4 separate regions of the Homo sapiens genome follow, and all the other regions are linked to region 3. The links are contacts of gene promoters, found by promoter capture Hi-C in human tissues and cell types (Jung and others, 2019). All regions are on one chromosome and are shown on one strand. The core of a region is centred on a gene start or on the middle of the fragment in contact, and the rest is flanking DNA. Distances in the headings are between cores, read along the strand shown.

Region 1 (2,700 bases), core at 158-2,657, 730 kb after region 3:
CAGACACCAGGGAGCAGAACATAGGGAAAATAAGAGGAGAGAATTCCCTTAGAGGTAAAGAAACTGATGGCCTGTTACTTTTCACAATATTTGCAAAGGAGAAAGGCAAATTCACAATGGGGCTAAAGAACCGTCTCAAGAGAGACCTTATTAGAACTGTAGGAGGACTGGGATGGTCCCAACCGAAGTCTGCTGGAAGGAAAGGAGACCATTCTCCCAGGGGCGGGCAGAACTCACCCCGAATGACTGCGAGTTCCTTTTATCACTACCCCACCAACTCTGATTCAGTCTTTTTTGCATCTTGTTTCATTAGGGTTGGAACCTTGATACCTATGTGCAGCCTTGAAACCACTGTGGTCTATGCCTGTATCCAGGCCAACAAGGACATGACCATGGCAGTGGAGAGGCATCCATCAGTCTGCTTTAGGGCAGTTTTTAACAAAGGCACCTGCAGAAGGAACTGAAACAATACTCACCCATAATTGGGCAGCTCAGAAGCTCTTGTTCCCTCTCAGCCCTGTATTTGGAAGCAGGACTGTGCACTTTGGACTGTGTCCCGGCAGTTCTTGGACCTCAAAAGAGTAACACTAGTCCTCCTGCTAATGAGGACTCGATCAGCTAATTGCAAATGAAAAGATGAGACTGCATTCATAAGGGGATGAAGTGGTTCCTCCTGGTCATTCCAGGACTTGCTGAGTCTGTCTGCAATAGGTACACTTCGTTGACTAAAACCTTTCTAGGGTACCAGGTGTAGCCATGGCTTATTGGAAAGTATGACCCATGCAGAGAAAAACAAAACAGGAGATGGGCAGAGGACAGGAGATGAGTAATTGCACCTGTCAGAAAATGAGGATAATGGTTAAGGATACTAGCATGGAAGCTCTGAGTTTTATGGAGAAAAACACCAGGGCAAATACGAGGAATTATTTGTCCTCAATGTCCCCTGGAGAAGGTGGAGTTGATCATTGGGGCCTTGGTGGCCTGTATGACCTTCCAGCCAACAATATTTAAAGTGCCTGCTTACACTCAGTGGTTAGCACAGGCATTACACCACCCCATCCCTGCTGCCCACCCTGAAGATACAGGCAGCTCTGATTTTGTGACATGCTATTTTTAAAACAACCAAATCATTTCTACATTGCCCCCTTCACAGCCTAGAGGAAGGAACTGGTTGCCTCACCAATCTTTGGCACCAAAGTGCTTCACTGCGGATGTCTTTTTTTCTGCTGTCATACCGTCCTGATTAAGATTAATTGTCCCAGTCGAAGTGACTCACTTAGAAAGGATGGGAAGGGTGGAGGGAAGAGGGCAGTTTGCTTCTTTTTTTTTTTTTTTTTGCCTACTTCAATGTTTGTTCTGAAAGATCCAAAAGAATACAGGAGTGTAGCAAAGGAATTTAAAGTGTGGAACATGTAATAAAGGAGATCAAGTGAAAAAGCTATTATGGGCTCCATGTTTATCTTCAGCTCAGTGACTTTCAGAGGAGCATGCACTTGGCTGGGGAGCCTGGAGGGTGTGACTGCTCCCTGCCAGTTGGAGGGCCTTGACCTGAACTCTCAAAAATTCAGCTGACCTCGTCCAGCCCCAGCTACTCTAAAAACAAGGCTACAACATCTCCCCTCACTGACACAGATACACCCCTATGTATATATTAAAACCTCAAAAGTTCATTTTGGGTGCAGAAATCATATACAACCAAGGGAGCAACTGAGTAAGAAAAAGAAAATATATAACGACTAAACTAAAAGCTGTACCAAAGAGGAAAGAGATATTATTTATAGAACAGCTTTCACTTGCCAGGCATTAGTGCAAAAGTTGATTCTTTCTGAGATACTTCTCCAGAACTCAGATTTGCACATCCTCTCTGAGTCTATCCCTCCAGCTCTGAGAGGCTCCCACTCCCTGGCAAGCACCTCAGACTCCTTTGTTGATGGAGTGGGCCTGGCTGAAGCAACTCTGGCTATTTTGGGGATAGTTATAGAATACTTATAGAGGCCTTATTCAAAAACTCATGACCACTACTCTCATTTCAAATTAAAAACGTCTATCCTCTATGCTTTTTTTCCCCACCTTATTACCTTAACAAAAAGAAGAAAGGTTTGGCAAGGAAAGAAGTGTATGGCTTTGCTGATTCTGTGCATTCAATAGAAATCAAATTGTCATGACTTGTGAGGAAGAGAATTGGGCAGGGTGTCAGTAGACTGAAGCACACAACATCCAGCCCAGAACAGGCCACATTTGGTAGCCATTGGCTAATGAATGAATGGATGAATGAGTGAACTTAGGTATGAATCCCAGCCCATCAACTAACCAGTCGTGTGCCCTTAGATAAACTACTTCTATTTTCTGGACCTCAGAGATTATCTAGTTCAACAGAGGAAACCAGCCTTAGCATCTAGCTCAGATACTCCTCTTACTGTCCCATCAGCCTGGAGTCTGTATATTCCTGGGGGGCTGTCTTGACATTTCCTTTTTCTGAAAAGACCATTTGAAACCATTCCTGTTCTACATCTACATCTTGGGCTGGATGAACCTTGAACATGCATCTCTCAATTCCAACTTGAGCCCACCGAACAGCTTAACTGAAATTTTCTCTGGGTTCCAGTGCTCCAAGTCCAGAGGCTTCCATATCTGCTCTTGCCAAATACAAGTGGTTGGCAGATAACCCTGCAGTAACTCATCACCCCAACAGTAACTCAT
Region 2 (2,700 bases), core at 24-2,523, 590 kb after region 3:
TGCAAGGGACCCTAGGAATAAAATAATTACTTATTGAAAATAAATAGTCAAAGACGACTATTATCCAGGTGTTAGAGATGGAAAGGTAAATCAGATTTGGTCCCTGACCCTTAGGGGCCAGTCTAGCAGGAAAACAATCTTGGAGCCTAGAGCTTTTTCCTTGTACCCAGCACATGCCTTAAACTTCGTGAGTGCTGGAGAACCAGATGTTAATTTGGGTGTGGGATTTTGAGCTAGTTCTTTTACCATAATTGCTATTTCCAAGTGGAGCTGATCGTCTTTCTACTTTCTCTTTCTAGGGGAGAAAGACATATTCTAGTATAGATCCTAGGTATTCCCATCTGACCTATAAATTGACTTTGTGATACAGCAGAAAAGGCATAAATTAAAATATTATCTTCTGTTACAAATTCCATAGTTTTGGATAAGTCATGTCCCTTTTTGTGCCTCATTTTATCCCACTGATAATAAGTGGTTTGAATTAGATGAGTTCTGGGGTCCCTCCTACTTTGAACATTCTTTGAGTTGAAGATCATGGCCACATCACTCAGCCCTGCTACTGGTGCCCAGGCTCTGGCCTTAGGAGTATGTGTCTAAGCTATTTGGTTGTCTCTTTTTCTGCCCCTTTCTCCCTTCAATCCATCTCTAATATCTGTACACCAGATCCACTGCCTTGGGCCTACTATATGTATTAGGTTGGTGCAAAAGTAATTGCGATTTTTGTCACTAAAAGTAACCGCAAAAACCGCAGTTACTTTTGCATCAACGTAATACTTCTGCTTCTCAGTTTCTCAGTTCCTTTTTTCTGTCTAGTGCTTTTCTTCTTGAAATTAGAATCGTTCTCTCCCTAGATTTTACCAACCCCCCTGATTTGGCAGAGGACTCTCAGCTTGAACCATATCTTGCTCCTGTGAACCTGTTTTCTTCAAGGCTTTGTAGTCTCTATTTTATAAGCAACACCTATGGACTTCTGAAAAAACGACTTGAGAATGCTGTTTTTTATGTTTTACACTCAGCTCCCTATAAATTACCATGCCTTTGTATTTTGATCATTTCTATTACTGTTCAAGGTTACATAACCTCATTCTATGCTACAGACTGAATGTGTTTTTGAAATAAAAGGCAGGGGAAAACTGTCATTAGAGGTAGTAAAATATAAAGCTTTTTTATTTCTTTCACAGTCTCCCTTGACTTGTCATGGTCGTGTTGTTTTTCAATTTGCTATTTCATGTTCTAAATAAAGAAAAATTGAAATGATAAATTACTAGCATAGATTTACCATTCATCTTGATATTGTGCAATGACACTTTTAAATGCAAACTAAGAGTATTTCATTCCTATGAGATTACCGAAATCACACAATTTATACTTCATAGCTTGTACACGCATATATATTTTGCTCTTATCAGAACACTGTAAACACTGCACGAAACCAGTTCAAGTATTTGTACTTTTCTTCTTAATAATATGCACATTCTATCAACACTCTCTACCTTTGACTTACTGATGAGTAAGAGGACTGAAAAGAAAAGGCACTATGGTTTGCCCTATCTTTCTCTTTCCTTCTATGGTATCATTTTCAGTGCAAGTGGTTGACTAATAGAGGAAGTAACATGAGTAATAAAGGATATGACAGAGTCCCTTGCTAATTCTTGTTTCTTAGAATGTCCTTGCCCTCTTTCTGGCTTGAATGGAAAATGTGGCCTCCTGGGACTGTCAGTGGTGTGGTCCCCACATCCTTAGTTGTACACATAACATGCTTACCGTGTGCTTGCTTTGAGTCCCTTCTGAGCTCCCATGCAATGTAGACTCATCGGAATCCCGTGCTCATGGGATTTTATGAACACTATATGCAAATAGGACAGCAAGAAATGGCAGTAAACGCTTTTATTGTTGCTATCTCCTCTGCTCCTGCACATGCTCCATGGTATCGTTGGACTTCACTTACAAAACACAGATACAAAGACAAAATTACTAAGAATTACCAAGAATTTTAATTTCAAGATGGCAACAGAGTATTAAACCAAAGATGAAGTCGTTCTGAGTGTGGGGTTTGCGAGATGGCACAGGTGGCACTCCCAGGAGCTCGTCTTGGCCAGGTCGCACCCTTGAGTCCATTGGAACCTGAATCTCACCCTGCTCTGCTATGCTATACTGACTCCAGCTGAATTCAAGGAGTTACAGTTTGAAACTCTCCAGACTCCAGTGGCCATCCCACTTGTGGTGAGTAGCTTTAAATAAAATATGCTCACAAATTATTTAATATACTTTCCTTTAAAAAATGGAGCTTAATTCCTTTCAAGTGTGGACTATTTTTAGTGACTTACCTCTAAAAAATATTATATGGCAAAAGTGATGAAGTATGATTTACAACAATTGATCCTGGAAGATACTGCATCTTCCATCTTGCTGTCTCTCCTAGATCACTTGCTCTGAGGGAGGACATCTGCTGTATCATGAGGACGCAAAACCATCCCATGGAGGGTGCTACATGCAGAGCAGCTGAGGCCTCCTGCTAGTTGTCAGTGAGGAACCGAGGCTTCTTGCCAATGGCCATGTGAGTGAGCCATCTTGCAAACAGATCCCCTAACCCCAGTTAAGCCCTTCAGGCAAACTGCAACGTTGTCAAGTCTTAACTGCAACCTCATGAGAGACCCTAGGCCATAGCCACCAGCTAAGCTGCTCTTGAATTCCTGACTC
Region 3 (2,700 bases), core at 201-2,700:
TTGCTTCAGGTGGTCCCTCTGCCTGTGCCCTTGCTAACCGCCCATTTCCTCTGGTAGAATTACAAGCTTCAATTTCAGCTCCGACTCACCCAAGAAACTCCCCTTTCCTCAACCACCACATCACCTCTCTACCAAAATATTTCTTTTCTTCAAAGCCTCTGATAAACATTTATTTATTTATTTTTTATCTTACCAAAGTCTTTCCCGATAACTCTTCCCAGCTTGGCGTCTTAAGACCAGGTACTTGCCTTCCTGGAGGCATCTAGGTCACCTTCAGAGCCAGGTGGCCATTGGGTTAACTAGCTGTTGAACTGAATCAAACAGGCTCTGAGCCTTGAAGTCAGAAAGAGCCAGAGTGGAGGGGTCTGGGGGGAAGAGGGGCGCTGAGGTATAGGGAGATGAAACCTGCGGTGGAGGCAGCTTAATGGTCCACCTGTCACCCAAGGAATCTCTCTGACAGGGGTCTTTGTTAGGGTCACACCCCAGGAGATGGTTGATTATGGCTGAGTCCAGCCTGGAATGATGGGGGTTGGGGGCAGCTTGGGTAGATGACTCAGTAAATCAAACAGAACAATGAAAGGAGGTCATGCTTGTCCATCTGCATTATTGAAGACAGCCATAAATGGCCTTACCCCAGAGCGGGTCTGTCACACCTGGAGAGCTGATCTGACCTCTCCAAGACCCCTGCAACTGAGTGTTCTGGGATCTGTCCTGCAACAAGTGCCTCGAGATTTGTAGGTGGGGGCCCAGGGTGCTAAGGGATTATTTTAGCGGGCGGAGAAGGGAGGGGGTCTGCAGACGAAGGGGGCAGGTTTTGCGGGGCACTTAGGGTTCTCATAGGTTGTAGTCACGAGCTCCCAGGTTTGGAAAACTGCAATAGTCACTAAGACCATTCGGGGCTGTTTGGGTCTAGCTTGGTCTAGACGGGTCTGAAACTCCGCAGGACCCACCCAACAAGAAGTCATTGTTCCAAGCCACGTGTCAGTGGTGGGTGATACCCCAGGATGGAAGGAGTTGGTATGAGCCGACTGAAATCTACTTGAAGGTCAAAACGGAGCCTTATGTCTTTTGTGTTCCCCAGCGGTTAGCCCAGTGCCGGCCACAGGGGAAGCGCGCAAACGAAGTCCTCGCGAACTGAACTGAGAGCAGACAAAAGCACGCGCTCTTCTCCACCGCCACGCCGGTCCTACCCAAACCCGCGAGTTATCCGTATTCTCCTTCAGGAGTCATAGTCAGGCCAGAAGAGTGCGGAGGGACGGGGCCCGGGAAGAGCAGGGAACCCCCAGAGCCCGCAGCCAACGCGGAGGTGGGCGAGCGGGCGTGCGCGCACTCACTTGCCGGCGCGAGGGAGTGTCGGGGGGGAAGGGAGTGGTCTCCAAAAGGGGGAGGGGAGAAGGCAGGGGGCGGGGAGAAGCCGGCCCTTTAGGACCCGGCTGCGGCGGCGAGGGAGGAGGAAGAAGCGGAGGAGGCGGCTCCCGCGCTCGCAGGGCCGTGCCACCTGCCCGCCCGCCCGCTCGCTCGCTCGCCCGCCGCGCCGCGCTGCCGACCGCCAGCATGCTGCCGAGAGTGGGCTGCCCCGCGCTGCCGCTGCCGCCGCCGCCGCTGCTGCCGCTGCTGCTGCTGCTACTGGGCGCGAGTGGCGGCGGCGGCGGGGCGCGCGCGGAGGTGCTGTTCCGCTGCCCGCCCTGCACACCCGAGCGCCTGGCCGCCTGCGGGCCCCCGCCGGTTGCGCCGCCCGCCGCGGTGGCCGCAGTGGCCGGAGGCGCCCGCATGCCATGCGCGGAGCTCGTCCGGGAGCCGGGCTGCGGCTGCTGCTCGGTGTGCGCCCGGCTGGAGGGCGAGGCGTGCGGCGTCTACACCCCGCGCTGCGGCCAGGGGCTGCGCTGCTATCCCCACCCGGGCTCCGAGCTGCCCCTGCAGGCGCTGGTCATGGGCGAGGGCACTTGTGAGAAGCGCCGGGACGCCGAGTATGGCGCCAGCCCGGAGCAGGTTGCAGGTAACGCGGTCTGGAACAAGTAGTTGGGAGAAACTTGGAGGGCAGCGGAGAAGCCCGACGGGCGGCTGGACCTTACGGACGGTTTTAGGGGCGGCAGAGCCGAGACCTTGGACCAAATCAAGGGGGACTGTTGCTAGCGGGACGCGGAAGTCAGGCCCGGGGAGGGGAACTGGAGTTAGAGCAAGTGGAAGAGCCCTGGCGACTCATTTGGTGGGGATGAATGGGGAGAGGAAAGGCATCCCTGCTGCCATAGTTTTACCCGCGTGGAACGGACCCAGACTTCTATTCTGGAGGAGGGATTTGCTGAGAAGGGGGCCGGTGGTCAGATCCATGGGAGTAGGAACTCGAATCTTATTTGGGGCACTGCTTGAGGACCCAAGGGTCCTGGTGGGATCGCTGCTGGGAGGCGGAGGCTGCGGGGTGCCAGTGACACCAGGAACCTTGGAAGAGGAGAGGGAGCTAGGAGGAGGCACCGGCGTCCCAAGGGGCCCTTCCTTCTACTGGGGTTGTGAGTTGGAAAGAAAGGACTTGGTACTTTGTAGGATGAGTCGCTTAGGAGAAAAATGAAAACCACCACTACTATTTCTCCATAGGGAACGAGCAGGGCTCTTGCTACCACGTTGAATGGAAAAATAAAAGGGAGGCATTTGGTAGGCGAGGGGTCTCCTAGCAGCTGAATCAATGTAACTTAAGCCCGATCGCCG
Region 4 (2,845 bases), core at 346-2,845, 920 kb after region 3:
ACCAATGATTAGAATTCATATTCCTGAAAGCAAAAGGAAAAGAGAAGAAATGTGCTCTTATAAAAAGAGCATTGATTAGGGAGTAACAGTTGCAGATTTTATTTGTAGCTTTGGCATCTACTACCTGGATTAAGTAGGCAAGACACTCCACCCTGCCGACCTCGGATTCTTCTCCTGTGACATGAGAGTCTCTGGCTTCACCTTGAAAGTAACTCTGATACAGGCTGAATATCCCTTGTCTCAAATGCTCCAGATCAGAAGTGTTTCAGGCTTTAGATTCTTTCAGATTTAGGAATATCTGCATATACATAATATGCAAAGATAGGACCCAAGTATAAATACAAAATTTACTTAGGTTTTATATACACCCTATACACATAGCATGAAGGCAATGTCAAACAATGTTTTTAATAATTTTGTGCATGAAAAAAAGTTTGTGTTAAAGCCCTTATGTGTGGAATTTTCTACTTATGGTACCGTACTGGCACTCAAAAATTTTGAATTTTGGAGCATTTTGGATTTTAGATTTTCAGATTGGGAATGCCCAACCTCCAATAACATTCTACTATTCCTGTAGTCTTGTGAGATGGAGAGATTGTAAGGAAGGGAAGAGATGGGCAGGAAGAACATAGGGACAGAGGTGGGGCTTCAGAATAAATAGAGTAATTGACAGACAGCACAAAGAACACTTGAAAAAGAGAGACCAAAAGAGCATCCAAAGGATAAAATAGTTCAGAATCAGAGAAATAGTTTGTGTTAGTTGAACTTGCATCTAGATAAGACCAGAGCCAACCTCAAAGAGAGCCCAGTGCTGGCAGAAGAAGAGAGAGTAGAAAGAGAAGACAGGGCTGCTTGTCTGTCCTCCCACCTGCTCTGGGCCCCAGAACTCCTCCCATCTCTCTGCAAGGCAGGCAGGCAGGCAGGCTGAGACTCCGGCTAGTTGTGGAGGAAGGATCTACCCAAGTCTCGTGGCTTTCTAAGAAGACAAGCTTTGATCTATAAAAAGTTAAGTACTATGATTTGAATGAGCATGCGCCAAGCCTTCTGAATCAGTGACTAGAAAGAGCTTGCATTTAATGTAAATTTAGAATAACAAAGCAGGGTGGAATGCTGGGTGGGGTGGGGACAGGCAGAGAGAGAATGAATATAAATTATCTCTGGAGGTAGGAGTTGATTGTGGGAAAGCTGAGACTCTAAGTTCAGAGGGCAGGAAGGACGAGGAGACAGAAACTCCCAAGGGTGCAGAGTGGCCTCCTGATGTCCGTGGGCTGGACCGTCAGTGATCCTGCCTGCCCCAGGCCTGGCAGGACTGGCTATGACTTGCTGCTGGAGGGAAGCTTGGTAGGATTTATGAGATGAGCTAGTGAGATGTTCTTGGCAAGCCGAAACTATAAATGTACAATACTTTATCTCCTGCAGGAATGTTTTATGAAAAGGAAAGATGGGAAATGTCTACATAAAATAGAGCTCCAGCCACTGGTCAAGGAGAGTGGCCTCTCTCTGGAGCCACATCAAAGGCACAGCTCTGTCTGCACCCTGTGGCCTCTGCAGAGCCTTCTCTGGGAGCTCAGAAGTTTACTGAGAGCCAAGCAGAGAAGGGAGCACACCCACTGCCAGTGCTCTTCTAGGATTGTCAAGAGGAAGAGGAGCAGGGTCTGCTGGGGAAACTGCTGTTGCCCCTTCCAGCTCCCTGGAAACTTCTTCACCATCCAGAGTGCTTCAGTGGGGCTGAAGCCTGATAGAGCTTTGTAGTAGGAGCTCTAAACAAGAAGTCAGGCAATTGACCTAGAGTCTGTAACTAGATAGCCACAGGGCTTGGAGAATGTCACTTTCCTCCCCAAGTTCATTTTCTTAGAAAATGAGACAATTAAAGATGAATGAATGGTATTCTAACAGTCTTCTCCAGGAACCATGAAAAGGCAGAACTGGCTTTTGAATTTCAAGGGAAGAAAAAGTAATCTCTTGAGCAGGAGGATAATATTTAGAATTAGATGCAAGTCCCATCCCTACTAAGTTACCCCTAACTGCCTACACTCCAGTGAATAAGACCAGCCAAGATGAAATAAGAAACATAAGCAAAACACTTTGGGGCTGATAGAGGAGGTTTGTTTCACGTGAACTTCAATGTCATCTTCTTGGAGTCTCTGAGAAGCTGCAACCTAATCTTAACTTTCCTGAAGATGCTGCAACTTCATCCCAGGCATTTTGGTTTTTCTTTCTGCTTCTTCCTTGGGGACACTTCACTGAAAATAAAGTGCCCACAGCAGGGCTGATGAGCTCATGCAGAGACTTTGCGTAAATTAGAAAAAAGGTAACCCCATGCCAGGGCAAACAGCTTCGGCAGTGTTGTGCAGAACGGATTTCAGCCCTCATTTGATTTATTTAGCTAGATGCTCCCATACAACCTGCACGAACTACACATCTGTAGCTGAAGTGCAAGGGGGCATAGGGTAGTTGCTCAAAATCTACATGTCAATAATAATAGTGCGTTACTACATGCCATACATCAGTTTTCCGGGGAAGCAGACTCAGAGTTGAACATGTGAATTGACAGGAACACTCCCAACCTCAACACCTACAGGAGAGGAAAAGAAGCAACACTGAACAGAGGGAGAAGCTGAACCACAATGCAGCTGCAGCAAAGACCTCAACCCACCCTGTAGGGAGCTCTACAAGCGAGATGGTCCTTCTGAGTTGTTTAGAATTTGATAAGGCTGGGCTTTTATACGTCCTGTGTAGACCAGTTGCAGATACGGACCGTAGTTAATTCTTACCATTTTATGTTGCCTTGGCATACATTTTGAATATAGGTTTGACTTTCTCATACCAGCAACAGGGCTTTGTC

Evidence for each region. Contacts are between HindIII fragments. The study calls those that stand out against the background at their distance.
Region 1: a contact is called between a fragment that was not itself captured here and the fragment with the promoter of IGFBP2 in region 3, in 2 of the 25 tissues and cell types used here (adrenal gland and aorta).
Region 2: a contact is called between a fragment that was not itself captured here and the fragment with the promoter of IGFBP2 in region 3, in 2 of the 25 tissues and cell types used here (hippocampus and neural progenitor cells).
Region 4: a contact is called between a fragment that was not itself captured here and the fragment with the promoter of IGFBP2 in region 3, in 3 of the 25 tissues and cell types used here (adrenal gland, heart right ventricle and mesenchymal stem cells).

The regions. Positions count from the first base shown.
Region 1 is chr2:217,359,804-217,362,503 of GRCh38, forward strand. All of the region lies in intron 8 of DIRC3 (disrupted in renal carcinoma 3), which reads right to left. Among named protein-coding and RNA genes, the nearest start is that of DIRC3-AS1, 78 kb to the left of the region's middle. The HindIII fragment of the contact is 5,085 bases long and covers 1-2,700 here.
Region 2 is chr2:217,221,972-217,224,671 of GRCh38, forward strand. No RefSeq gene overlaps it. Among named protein-coding and RNA genes, the nearest start is that of DIRC3-AS1, 59 kb to the right of the region's middle. RefSeq lists an enhancer at 1,392-2,591. The HindIII fragment of the contact is 4,414 bases long and covers 1-2,700 here.
Region 3 is chr2:216,631,970-216,634,669 of GRCh38, forward strand. It overlaps IGFBP2 (insulin like growth factor binding protein 2), which reads left to right and starts at 1,451. Exons shown (of 4, transcript NM_000597.3): 1 at 1,451-1,996. The coding sequence starts at 1,555. The HindIII fragment of the contact is 9,313 bases long and covers 1-2,700 here.
Region 4 is chr2:217,554,286-217,557,130 of GRCh38, forward strand. All of the region lies in intron 2 of DIRC3 (disrupted in renal carcinoma 3), which reads right to left. Among named protein-coding and RNA genes, the nearest start is that of DIRC3, 230 kb to the right of the region's middle. RefSeq lists an enhancer at 788-1,388. The HindIII fragment of the contact is 3,683 bases long and covers 1-2,845 here.